Linked DNA regions of Homo sapiens: regions 1 and 3 are each linked to region 2. Evidence: promoter capture Hi-C in human tissues and cell types (Jung and others, 2019). All regions are on one chromosome and are shown on one strand. Each heading gives the region's core, a stretch centred on a gene start or on the middle of the fragment in contact. The rest is flanking DNA. Distances are from core to core; before and after follow the strand shown.

Region 1 (4,317 bases), core at 757-3,256, 1.2 Mb after region 2:
CCCTTCCTCTCACCAGCTCCAGGGGCCCCACGTGCTCCTCATCTTCCCTGCACTTCTGTGGACACAATCCACCTCCTAATGCTCCCTGAGTAACAGACCTGTGGGTGTCTCCAGCCCCCTTTCATCCTCTCCGTAGCAGTCACCAAAACCCACCTTTCTTCAGCTCCTTCACCCACTACTCTGGGCTTCCCCCCTGGAAGCTTCTCCTGAAAATAAAGTCCCAAAGCAACGCACTCCTGCTGAGTCACACCCCCCTGCACCGAGCGAGGTGCATAGCGGCTGAGCCTGGCCCCGGGAGCTGCAGACTCACACCTGCTCAGCCAGCTCCTTGCCCCAAGGTCCGCACACAGCCCCCGACCCAACTCTCATGATGGTGGGGGCATGTGTCCCTCCCCTCTTACAGGCTTAGAGAAGGTCTGTGATGGGTGCGAACTTGTGCAGCCTGGCCCAGGGTTCCAGGATGGTGTCTCCATAGGGAAAGGCCAATGTGCCAGGGAGCAGCATGGTGGATGAAGGCCATGCTGGATGATAGCAACCTCTGCGTCATCATGCTCGCCTTTGTTTAGGAAGTCTACTCTCCACTTCTGGCCTTCAATGTGCATTGAATGGTTACCATCTTTTCCCTAACAAGGACATAAGGGTTCAGGTGCTACCCATCTGAAATGACCTCCTCACTCCCCTGTTACATATCAGGCAGTAATAACCCAAGGGTCTGAGTCTAGATCCTAAATCTTATGATTTCCTAGTGCCAATCCATTACTAATTAATTGCTAAGATTTATTGCCCAATTTCAGGGGGATCTTAGTAGGCACAGCTCTTGGAGTATCTTATTTAATTCTCCTACAACACCCTGCCATGGGTAACAGGAAGGTGAGTCTGTGGCAAGTCATGACATTTGGATGTGGCTCCTCATGGGCACGGTTCTGGGGAACCCAAGCTGAGAGCTGGCCTCCAGCACCAGCGTCACCACCCCGCCCTGGCCGAGGTAGGAGTCACTGTTGCAACCTAAGAGCCAGTGATGTGCTGCCAGCCCCAGTGCCACAGGAAACACAAAGCATTACAGATTTCTGATTGTTTAAAATCTTGTACATTTTCTGTAACATTTGATTGACACAAAAAGAATGACTAACGTGGCCAGGCACGGTGGCTCACATCTGCAATCCCAGCACTTTGGGAGGCTGAGGCGGGTGGATCACTTGAGGTCAGGAGTTCAAGACCAGCCCGGCCAACATGGTGAAACCCCATCTTTACTAAAAATATAAAAATTAGCCGGGCATGGTGGCAGGCACCTGTAATGTCAGCTACTTGGGAGGCTGAGGCAGGAGAACTGCTTGAACCCGGGAGGCAAAAGGTTGCAGTCAGCCAAGATCGCACCACTGCACTCCAGCCTGGGCAACAAGAGCGAAACTCTTCTCAGAAAAAAAAAAAAAAAAATTACTAACTGCCTAACTGCAGGAGATTTTAGAAAGCGTATTTCAAGTTTTTAGAAATGAAGTCCCAGTTTATAATAAGCATTTTACAGAACTCAAATTTCCACACAGCTAAACAAAAGGAAAAATGCAAAATAGTTTCTCATGGAAGCACTCAAGTCGTGCTGATCTGGGCACAGAAAGTCAAGGTTTGAAATATGCAAAGATTTAATTATGACATGAGGTAACTGACATCCTGGGAGAGGTCCTTTGGAAAGTTTCTCTCTTCAGCTGTAATTGCTTTGGGCTGGTATAAAATGGCTGCCCTGGAAAGTGTTCATAAAATAGAACCCATAGCTACTCACTCCCACCGAGACAGATTCTAATTTGTTTCCAAGCCTGCACCTGAAACTCCGTGCAGACACAGCTTCAAAAGCAACCTGAGAACGTTGCTACCAACAGTCACCATCTCTATTTCCAGACACCACTCGGGGATGCTGAAGCGTAATCCTAAATGATGATGTGACTTCATATTTTAATAACTGGCCATCATGTTTACTCTGGTTCCTCCTGGGGTTTCAGCACCAGCAATGTCCCCAGTGGGTGTTTGCTCAGCTGGGAAGGGCCTCCAGATCTGCCTTACAATGAGCCAAGCCGGCCCTCTCCTGCGACCGTGTTTACAGACTCTATCACTCATCCCCACCTAGCTGGCCAGCGCCCACCCTCACCACATGCGCATGTTCCCCGGCAGCTGGGCAACGGGGGCCGTCTGTGAGTGAAGCCAGCTCCTTTCACACCCACTTAGACACACTCCTAGAAAATGGGCCCAACGTGAACAGCTGTGCTTGGCTGGGGCTGTTGTAGGTAATCACGTTCTTCATGTACTTTCTTCACTCACAGTCCCTGTGAACCTCATCCCAGGAGAGCCCCCCCAGAAGACTTTCCTACATCCACTTCCTGCCGTCTGGGCTTCTCTCCCTGGCGGTCCCATTCTAATCCAAAGGTACTTTCAGAGAATGCTTTCTCCTCCTGGTTGAGTCTCATAAACCAGGCTGCAAAAGGCCGAGGAAGGAATGGGGAGCCAGAAGAAGGAGGGGGCAAAATACCAGAAAGGTGCCCACAGGATGGGAGAAGGATGCTGTGCTGCCGGACAGGGCAGCAGGATGGACACCGCCCGGAATGGCCACCACCGTCATCGTCTTCACTTCTGACGACAAGCACCAACTGCCCCTGCTGACATGTTATTACATCATTTTGTGCAAATCCTCTAAAAGTGATGCATCTGAGTAATCTCTTTACCAAACACAAGTCAGTCCCCTCCTTTTCTCATGGTGCAGGCTCTGCCCACACTAGCCTGTTGGTTTGGAAGGAGAAGAGCAGAGGTGCTCCTGCCCTTCGAAAGGAGTTGGGGGGCCTCCTAGGAGGCTTCTCAGATGTCAGCCCCTGCGATGAGGTTTTGCTGCTGTTTCACAGACAGGGGTCTGGTCTCCTGATGGGAGCACCGGACCTCAGAAGCTCCAAACTGGGCACGTGTGGCTCACCCTGCCCACCCAGGGTACCCCTAGCATCTCCCTGAGCCTCATGTGCTACCGCGTGTGCAGGGTAAGGGACACACATGGGGACATGGGGACACGGCGCCCTGGCCTGCAGGTCTGTAGCCACCCTTCCTAGTTCCCGTCTCCACCAGGCTTCTCCGCACCATGAGCAATTTCTTCAAATGCCAGCAGATTCTCCCTTCAGCTAGACACAATTCCCCTCTAACCCCGTCACTTATGTTTTGATTGAAGTCGTGTTTCTAGTTGCTGGAAGCTCTGCCTGGTTCTTCTTCAAAGCTTCCCGTACCTTCTTCCCAGTGGTTTTCATGGACCTCTGTTTCAGTTTCCTCTTGGGAAGATTTGGGTCTTGTTGCCTCTCTCTGGGCTCTGTTACGTGACGATCCTGCATCCTCCTCCTATTTGACGCACCTGACAAGAGTTCCCCTCAGCGCTGAAAATGGGCAATCTCTGCGTCAGGACATGGAAGACTTGGCAGAACATTTTAGAAGCCACTGGTTTACCCAGCACTTCTGGAATTTCTCAGAAATGAAGAGAACCGGCACGCCAGCTTCCTCAGCAAATTCTGGGTGAGTTGGTTCCTCTTGGGCTTCACATCTGGGGAGGATGAGCTCCTCTTCAGCAGGATTCGATCTGCGGGAAACCTGTGAGGTGCGGCCTCCAGGCATGTCTAGGGCCTGCGTCTGCAGGGCCTCAGAGGGGGATGCCCCGTCCTGGGACGGCCTGGGTGACTTCTCTTCGGGGGGTCCGCAGGCTGTGCTGGCAGCACGGTCCAGCCAGGGCAGGAGCGGAGCTGGGGCTGGAATCCAAACGCCACCATCCTCTCCTGCGGTCCAGCCTCCTGGCCACCAAGCACCAGTGCAGAGATGATTTCTAGAATGTGCTTTTACCAAGAATGGAACTTTTAGCAAGGACCCTGGCTTTATGGTGGGGGGGAAGTGACATTGCTTTCAATATTCCACTTGTTTATTTGGGGAGGACCAAAACACAGGTCTCTGGGTGACTGAGACCATGAGACCCACAATGCCGCCTGCCCCACCCTGGCTGCCAAAATACCACTTATTTATAGACCACTCCGATTTTCATTTTCTTCTTCGTCTCAGAGCCCTTGGAGATTTTTCCTACTTTCTTGCGAATTGAACTACCCATTTAAAATGTCTGCTGCATTTTGTGCAATATTTCTCCTTGTTTAGTAAGGGGTTTGGGGCTCTCTAATACATCACATGGTCAAATACAGAGGTTCCCAGCTACACAGTTGCTAAAATCCTTTCACATTCCCAAGTCTAGGGTTCCTCACATTTCTCCTCCAACAGCTTAGCTGGAATATAACTCACATACCATTAATTCTCTCATTA
Region 2 (4,464 bases), core at 1,965-4,464:
CACCATTTACAAATACAAAGTATCTCTGCATGGCTCCGGTCCATCCAAACACCCAAACCACCAGTAACACACAGTGTGGAGTACCTGGCTACCCTGGCCTAACCTTCATCTGTTCTCTCACTCATTTGCCTCTGCTATCTCTCCAGGGTTAATCCACAATAAAATGCCTACAGCAATGTTTTCCAAGGACTTCTTTATCTTTTAGCCACCCTCACACATCAGAAGGAGCTGGAAAGCTTTCTTTGTCCCAGGAATTCTGACTATGTGAACACCAAGAAGGAACAGGGTCTATTTATCTATCCTTTTTAATAAAGTAAGTCACATAAGGAAACCATGAGGAAATATGAGTATTCAATCCCAGACTCTTTTTTCTGTAGCAAAAGGAAATATAATTTAGTCCTACATAGTGGACGATAACGCAATTACAAGAAAACAGATCATGACTGTTTCTGGAAAAAGTCAAATTAGTTTAATACCATAGACATGAACTTAAAATGATAGAGATGAATGGCTCTGTGTGTAAATATGGGTGAGGTAGCCAGATGAATACACTGCAAAAAACACAGGTGGAATGAGAAAAACAGAAATAATATTATCCCACAACTCGTATTCCCGAGACGTTATCCAATAATGTATATGCTGGAAAAGTTCACTAAAGAATATTTACCGCTTAGATTAAAAGAAAATGTGATGCCATAAGCGTAATAATACAGCAAAGGGGAATTAAAAATGCAAGCTACGCAAACACTTATATAGATCTATATAACAGAAAACAGCTGAAGGCCTGGAGAAAGGGAGTCAAGCATCAAAATTGGACGTCTGTCTGTCCCCCTCCCAAGATGAAGGGGTCAGAAACCGGCTGGGAAGGGGGGATTCTCCAAAGGGTGAGCCGGGCTGGCCCATCCATCTCTCATTTCTATGGAAAGAGGCTGCACATTAGCCCCACAACGTGACCCTCCTTTTTAACACTGAGTGTTAGAAGGGAACGGAATGAACTGGGAACACCGCGGGCAAAGTGAGTGTTAGTCCCTTCCCTCTTCCATTTCGCTCGAAGGAAACAAAGCAGGAAAATAAGGTGTCTAGGGACCCACACTTCTGAGCGACACAACTGAGAACAGAAGCTTCCGCCCAATAAAGCATTTCTCTTACACTGCAGGTTACCTATAGTCACTGTGATTGGGTCTTCTATAACGTTACCACAGTGAAACACAGGTTTACCACTCACATTAGGATTTGAACTGGGGGCTCGAGCACCAGTGAGGGAGTAACACAAGGCTCCTGGAGCCAAGCCTTTCAAGATCTAGCATCGGAATCATCAGAATCACCAGGGGTGAGTTCTCTCCACTTAAGTAAGTCAGGCTGACCTTCCTAAGGCTTCCCCGAGATCAGGAAACGATGTAAGGTGCACTCAAGTCTCCTTGACTCTCCGAGGTTTTTGGTTAATAAATAAATCCGGGGGAAAGCATTGATCTGGCATCCCCCACTGAAAAGAAACCTATCTATCTTTGGCCAAGGTCTCCTATTTAAAGAAGGCTCATAAATATGAAAGGCTGCCTGAGGTAATTCCTATGCCGGGAAAGAACAAAGTTCCCATAATACTGCCCTCTCTAGTATCAAACCCGGTGCATGCGACTTCTCGAACCTGTGATTGACCAGTGACCGCCAGCCTCTATGGAACAATGAAGCCTCTTGTGCAAGACAGTGGCAGGAAACGCTGTGCTTGGGACAGTTTTCTTCCTCTCCTACACACACACACACACACACACACCCTTTTTTTTTTTTTTTTTTGATACAGAGTCTCGCTCTGTCACCCAGGTTGGAGTGCAGTGGCTCGATCTCGGCTCATTGCAACCACCGCCTCCCGGGTTCAAGCGATTCTCCTGCCTCAGCCTCCTGAGTAGCTGGGATCCCAGGCGCCTACCACCACGCCCGGCTAATTTTCGTATTTTTTAGCAGAGACGGGGTTTCACCATGTCGGTCCGGCTGGTCTCAAACTCCTGACCTCGTGATCCGCCCGCCTCGGCCTCCAAAAGTGCTGGGATTACAGGCGTGAGCCACCGCGCCCGGCCACACACCCCTTTTTACACCTAACGCCAGGGATTCCGGTTTCCCCTCCTCTGGTGTAAAACAAAATCAACTTTTCCCCTTCCGAGTCTTCCCTCCTGAGCTCTTCACTTGCTTATCACTGAAGGGGCAAATTCCAGAGGAACCCAAGAAGACCCCGGACTTCTGATCTAATTGGTTACTTTAAGGTAAAAAATAAAAAGATTCCAAACTCCGCTTCTGAATCCCCCAGGGGTGTTAAAGAACAAACACAATTGCTACCTTTTTCTGCAGAAGTGTAACGCTTCCTCCCAATCCCTTAATCTTACAGACACGGCTGCGCGGAAGCCGCATCTGAAGGTTCCTCCCCAGACCCGGGCCCCGGCGGGGTCGAAGTTGGCTCCCTCCGGGCGCCCGGTCCGCCGGGACAGCTCGAACCCCAGCCAGCCTCTCCGAGGGACCCCCAGGGCGCTGCGGGCGGGAAGGGGGCGCCAGGCGGCCGCGGCCAGGGAGCAGGTGGCCGCCCGGGGCTGGGGCCCCGCGCTGTGCCCACCTAGACCCCGTCGGAAGCCCCAGGGTGTCAACTCCGAGGCCCCTCCCCAGCATCCCGCTCGTCCCCGGGGGCGGTCCGAGTCCCAGACATCGGAGACCTCCCGGGACCCCGGGGCTGGACCGGCCACAGGGTCCGGGCTGCGGGGCCGGCCCGCGTCTGTCTGGTCCCCGGGTCCCCCAGCCCGCGCCGGGAGCACTCACGTATCTGTGCACGAGCGTCCGCACGAGGCTGCAGTCCATGGCTCCTCCGGCCGCTCCCGCTCCGCCGTTCAGCGCCCCCGCGCCCGGCTCGGCGCGCCCATGGGCTCCGGGGTACTAGTGCGGCCGCGCCCCCCGCTCCGGTCACGGCCTCGGCGCGCCGGGCGGTGCAGGGGGCGGCCGCGGCCCCTCCGCGCTCATGCCCGGCCCGGCCGGCGAATGCTGGGTCCGCGGCCCCGCGCGTCGGCAGCTGCTCCACTGGCGGCAAGGCTGCTGCTCGGGGCCGCGCGCGCGCGCTCTGGCGCCTTCTCTCTCCCCGTCGGTCCGCCCGCTCGGTTGGGCTCGGCTGGAGCACCCCGGCCGCGGCGGAGCCTGCGCTCTGCTCCTCCCGAGTCTCCTCCTCCCCTGCCCGCCGCCCTCTGGAGCCTCCGGGCCCCGCTGGCTCCTGCCCCTGCTCCGGGCGCGCACGTCACCGGCGCAAGTGAGCATGCGCCCCGCGGCCGCAGCCCCCGCCGGCCCCGCGCCCACACCCGCGCTCGCACCCGCGCGCCGGCCCTGCCCCCTCGCGCCTCCGCCCGGGCCCCAGACCCTGGGGGCAGAGGGCAGAGGGCAGAGGTCAGAGGCCGCGGGGAGGAACCCCCCTGTTGCTTCCGCCTCCCGGGGCGCAGGCGCTGGGCGCGGCGGGGAAGGGACTCGGCACTGGGGAAACCCGGAGTTTCAGCCAGGGTCCCAGGGCTTCCTTCCCGGGTTCCTGCCGGAAAACTTTTCTCCTCCGCCCGGAAGCCTCGATGGGGCAGTGAGATCGCGGGGCGAGGTGGGAGTGTGGGAGGGGGCCGCGGGCAGAGAGCGGGAGTCCGGCTGGGTGGGAGATCTCCTGAGCCGAAGCTGGGTCTCGCCCCAGCGTGGCGCCACCGACCCGCAGGCTTTTCCTGCTCTGCAGATGGAGAGACACAGGGACGCTCCTCAGGTGGCTGCCCTGGGCTGCCAGCCTGTCAGTGGGAGGGGAGGGTGCAGACAAGAGGCCCCTGTTTCCGAAACCCCTCTGTCCCCAAAGCTGCGACAGCAGAAGACACTTAGGCGGCCTGAGGGGTTGGTGAACCACAGAGGAGCTCAGCTTCGCCTGGTCTCCAGCTCCCGGTGGCGGTGGCGTGTCCTTAATGCTGCTGGCTTTGAACTGGACTGAGAACTATTTACCACACAAACACCACCATTTCAATCCCGGAGAATGCCTGTTTTCCCTAGGGTGACCTGGCCGGGGTAACAAACACTTGTTCTCTAATTCCACGGTCAGCCTTGACTTAATTGAGGTACTTGATTTCCAACTTCCTGTCTTGCTGCCACAGATAATCACTGATGAAACCAAACAGGCAACACCTTTTGGTGGCCTGTGGAGAGCGCTGCCCCGTCTGGGTCTTAGGAAGGCAATTGAATATGAATGTTCTCCCGAGTGCTTGTGGAAAAGAGATGGTGTTGGCCACTTTTTAGACGAAGAGAAATGAGTACTAGTGAACACTAATCATAGTGACTAAACAGTAAACGGCTCCCATTTGTTGTCGGCTAAAGCACTGATTCTTCATTTTCCATCCCAGCCTGTCCTGCTCTGGCCTGCCCTGTGCTCAGGAAGCTGGCGGTCCCCCTCAGTGGATCTTCACCCACAGGGACAACCTGCTG
Region 3 (4,289 bases), core at 525-3,024, 1.2 Mb after region 2:
ATCTCTAGGCTGGCAGAGAAGACGGGGGTGTGGAAAGGCAAGGAACAAACCCCGGAGCGAACCCCTCAGACAAGAGGCAGAAAGCAGCCTGTCCTCCGTCCACACCTGGAGTCTGTATCCTGCTCCAAACAGAGAGTGCGCCCCTCCCATCAGTGTCCAGCCCATGCCACTGGCTCCGAGGTGCTTGGGACAGAACTTTGATACCCACTTTCTAGGTGGGAAAACTGAGCCCAGGTTTGTGAACTGCAATTGATATCAGAGGCAATTTTAGTGTGCAAGGCAAGCGGGCCTCCCCATTCCATCCCAGTCCAATGTGGGCCTTTTAAAAACGCTGGTGAAAGCCACATATACAATTGACCACCTTCACCAGGTGTAGGGTCACAGTCCCCTTGTGCTAACCCCTTCTTACTGGGCGGCAGTCCTCCAGCACTGACCGGAAGAGGTGGGGCCGGCCTGCCCTCCCCCTCCTCCCCCCACCCTCCCCTACCGGCTGTTGTGCAGGGCCTGGTGGGGAGCGAGTCCCCAGCCTCTGTGCCCTGACTCACTGGGGCACCGGCGCAGAACCTCTGTTCTGCAGCTCCTTGGGAATGCACCTGCTTCACCACTCAGGACACACCTGCAGCCTTGGGGAGCTCCTTTATCTGAGAGGAAGCCCTTTCCAGGGCAGGGTTTCCTCTAAAGAGCCCACGCTTGGCCCAGAGGAAACAGCCTGTGTCTTTCTTTGATGTGACATTTTCCCCTGGCTTTTCTCCTCTGGGTGTCACTACCTTCTCTGACAATGATGTGATGCATGCTTGACGCTTCCTCTCCTCCACTATTGCTCAAGGTCCACAGTTTACCAGTCCCAGGCGAGTGTGCAGGAGGACCAAGTCCAGGTTCTGAGCACCCAGGAACAGCGCTCACCCACCCAGGCTTACCCAGGCACAGTGCTCAACCCCACAGACACAGTGCTCGCCCACACATAGTCCTCGCCCAGGCACAGTGCTTGCCCAGGCACAGTACTCACCCAGACATAGTGCTTGCCCGCCCAGGCACAGTGCTCACCCAGGCACAGCGCTCACTCAGGCACAACACACACCCAGGCACAGTGCTCACTCAGGCACAGTACTCACCCAGACATAGTGCTTGCCCGCCCAGGCACAGTGCTCACCCAGGCACAGAGCTCACCCAGGCACAATACACACCCAGGCACAGTGCTCACTCAGGCACAGCACTCACCCAGGCACAGTACTCACCCAGACATAGTGCTTGCCCGCCCAGGCACAGTACTCACCCAGGCACAGCGCTCACCAAGGCACAGCACTCACCCAGGCACAGCGCTCACCCAGGCACAGTACTCACCTAGGCACAGTGCTCACCCATGTAGGTACAGTGTTCACCCGCCCAGGCACAGTGCTTGCCTGCCCAGGCACAGTGCTCACCCAGGCACAGTACTTGCCCAGGCACAGTGCTTGCCTCCCCAGGCACAGTGCTCACCCACCTAGGCAGTGCTCGCCAGGCCCGTGCCAGGCTCCACAATGCCACTCAGCACTGTGTTCTTCAGAACTGATTCCACGACCACGTGCCCCATCAATTGCCAGTGCCTTCTTGGCATTGCCTTCCTCAAAGGTGTTTGTGTGTTCCTTTTTAAAAAAGCGAGGAGCTACCTGGAGAGACCTGCCTGGTGAGCCTGAAAGCACACATTCTTAGAAGGATGACAATAACTCATCCTAGCTCTTCATCTCTGCCGTGGTGAAGGGCGTGAGACAAACGCAGCACCGGCTTCGTGGCTCGGTGAGTCGGCCACAGCAGCCCACAGGGACGTTCCAGCATCTCCTCACTAGATGGCGACGACCTCACAAGTTCCTAATCCATTGAGCCAGCACCTGTCCCAAGGCCAGCAACTGCTTCCAGCAGTTTCTTTAGGAAAAATATCCTGAGCAGTGCCTTGCCTTGTGGCTGAAACCATCCCTGCACCGGTCCTCACAGGAGAGGCCGAAGCTTGAGCCTGAGCTGGGGCATGCTGACCAGAGGGGCCTCACCCTGCCTGGCCCTGAGCTGCGGTTCACAATCCTGCATTATCTGCCAAGCAGAGGGAAAGGCACAACTGCAAACCACCTTCACTTGCAGCGAAGAAAAGCAAATCTGCTGCAGGCAGGAGCCCCCAGATCCCTCGCCGGGACCCACTCCACCCTGAGCAGCACGGACCTCAGGAGGCAACCAGGCCCCGAGACAAGGCCTTACAGCAACACCAGTCCAGTGTGGCCAGCAACCAGGTCTCCTCCCTAATACGGAACCCCATCTCATAAGTCAGCTTTATCATGTCTCTCATATCCCTCCTCCTTGCCCCTTTCCCCTTCTCTCTTCACTCTGTCTTCCCGCTTTCTTCCTTCTTCCCCACTCTCTCTTCTCCCTCTCTCCTCCTCTCTCCTGCTCTTCCTCTCCTTCTCCCTCTTTCCCCTTCTCCCCCTCTCTCCCTCCTCCTCTTTCCCTCTTCCTCCCCCCTCTCCCTGTCTCTCTCCCTCCCCTTTTCCTTCTTTCTCTGTCTCCTCCTCTCCACTCCTCTCCTTCTTCCCCTCTTCTTTCCCTCTTCCCCTCTTCTCTCTCTCCCTCTTTTCCTCTCCTTCTCCCTCTCCTCCTCTCCTTCTTCCTGTCTCTCTCCTTCCCCCTTTCCTTCTCTCTCCCTCCTTCTCTCTTCCCCTCTCCCCGCTCTCTCCTGCTCTTCCTCTCTTCTCCTTCCCCCTCCCTTCTCTCTCTTCGTCTCCTTCTCCTCTCCCTTCTTCTCTTCCCCTCTCCCCCACTCCCTGCCGCTCTTTTCCTTTCTCTCTCTCCCCTTCTCTCTTCCCCTCTCCCGCTCTCTCTCCCTCTTCCCCCTCCCCCTCTCCTTCTCTCTCTCCCCTTCTCTTTCTCTTTCTCCCTCCTCCTCCCCTCTCTCTCTCACACACACCCCTCCTCCACTCCTCCTTTCCCTCTAAAGCTTTCATGAGTTATTTCACAAGGAACACAAGTTCAAAACAGAAAACATGCTCTTCCCTTTCTCTTGTTCCCTATAACGTTTTTGTCAATCACTTCTTATATGAACCTAAGCTTTCTTACCCGTGAAATTTGAAAATCTTGTTTTTTTGCACCACATATGTGCACAGGATGTGTAAATCTGGACTATAAAATATAAATAACTTTTACAGTTGGTTGATAACTTTCAGTATCAGGTAAATAACATGAATCCCAGGTGGTCATGCCTCCAAAAGTTCCCTGCATCTGCAGCCTCAGGCTGGCTGCGGCCCTGGCATTTCCACCTGTGTCCTTCCTAGTTCCTACTGGATCCCCGAAATCCCACTCCTCCCATTCGGGACCCTCATGGGATTCACTGGCCATTCTGGGTCTTCACAGGGGAAACTGAGAAAGGGGCCACAGCCTAAATCGAGTCTGTTCATTACAGCTTTATCCACAGAAGCAAAACACACCCACACTCCCAGGAAGGAGGCGGCAAAGGACAGCTGCCAACAGCGGAACAAGGAGGCTGGCCCAGCGCAGTGTCACCCATGAACCGATGGGGCCAACAGGTGCCTTGCCCCTCCTGGGAGGAGCGCCCACATCCTGTGCAGACTTTCCATCCAGACATCCCCCTGTGGCCCAGTCAACGCAGGGAGGGTCTTCGCTGTGCAGACCCCAGCAAGGCAGACACACGGCCTCCGTGGAGCCGGCTTCCCGTTCTCTGTGCACCTGGTACAGCCGGGTTTCCCTACGCACCAGGTACTGCAAGTCGCCTAGAGGCAGCTCTGCCTGTGCCAATGGGGAGTCAAGAACTAGCGAGGGAGACTAAAGGGTGCCTAACCGCCCCCAACCCTGAGGTTCTGAGATTTCATAGGTTCTCAATGCTGGGTGCTAAGAAGACAGGCACCAAAAAAGACCCTCCACGTTTAAAGGCCATTAGGATCCTGGATCCCAGGTACCAGAGTCAAATGCAGGAGCCAGAAAATCCCCGCTGACTGTGTCTTACACAGACCCCAGGCCCTACACTAAACAGGAACGCTTAGAAAGAGATGCCGGCAACCTGTAGTCCTGAAAGTGTCCCAGGTGACCAGCACCACCGGCCCCTCAGAGCAGCCTGGGCAAAGGCAGGCACTGGGGCCAGGCCTGGAACGTGGGGCAGGAGCCTTCCTCGTGGGAAGGTTGGGTGGGGTGGGACAAGCTCAGGACTGGCTGCTTTCAGTCCTAGTTACTGAGTGATTTCAGTGGGCTCTGGGGAATTGGGGCTGCCCCTAAGTGTCTGGTACCTGTCCTGGAGTGACCGTGGCAGGGGGACAGTG

Evidence for each region. The method cuts DNA at HindIII sites, captures the fragments that hold promoters and counts their contacts. A contact is called where the count stands out against the background at its distance.
Region 1: a contact is called between a fragment that was not itself captured here and the fragment with the promoter of ATP11A in region 2, in 1 of the 25 tissues and cell types used here (dorsolateral prefrontal cortex).
Region 3: a fragment that was not itself captured here is called in contact with the fragment with the promoter of ATP11A in region 2 in 1 of the 25 tissues and cell types used here (lymphoblastoid cells).

The regions. Positions count from the first base shown.
Region 1 is chr13:111,478,968-111,483,284 of GRCh38, reverse strand. No RefSeq gene overlaps it. Among named protein-coding and RNA genes, the nearest start is that of LINC02337, 110 kb to the left of the region's middle. The HindIII fragment of the contact is 4,140 bases long and covers 1-4,076 here.
Region 2 is chr13:112,688,788-112,693,251 of GRCh38, reverse strand. It overlaps ATP11A (ATPase phospholipid transporting 11A), which reads right to left and starts at 3,214. Exons shown (of 30, transcript NM_015205.3): 1 at 2,797-3,214. The coding sequence starts at 2,835. LOC102725228 (a long non-coding RNA gene) reads left to right here and starts at 3,437. Exons shown (of 2, transcript NR_187633.1): 1 at 3,437-3,589; 2 at 4,383-4,464. RefSeq lists enhancers at 1,060-1,561, 3,860-4,377 and silencers at 2,422-2,661, 2,682-3,611. The HindIII fragment of the contact is 4,763 bases long and covers 680-4,464 here.
Region 3 is chr13:111,458,246-111,462,534 of GRCh38, reverse strand. No RefSeq gene overlaps it. Among named protein-coding and RNA genes, the nearest start is that of LINC02337, 140 kb to the left of the region's middle. The HindIII fragment of the contact is 5,092 bases long and covers 1-4,289 here.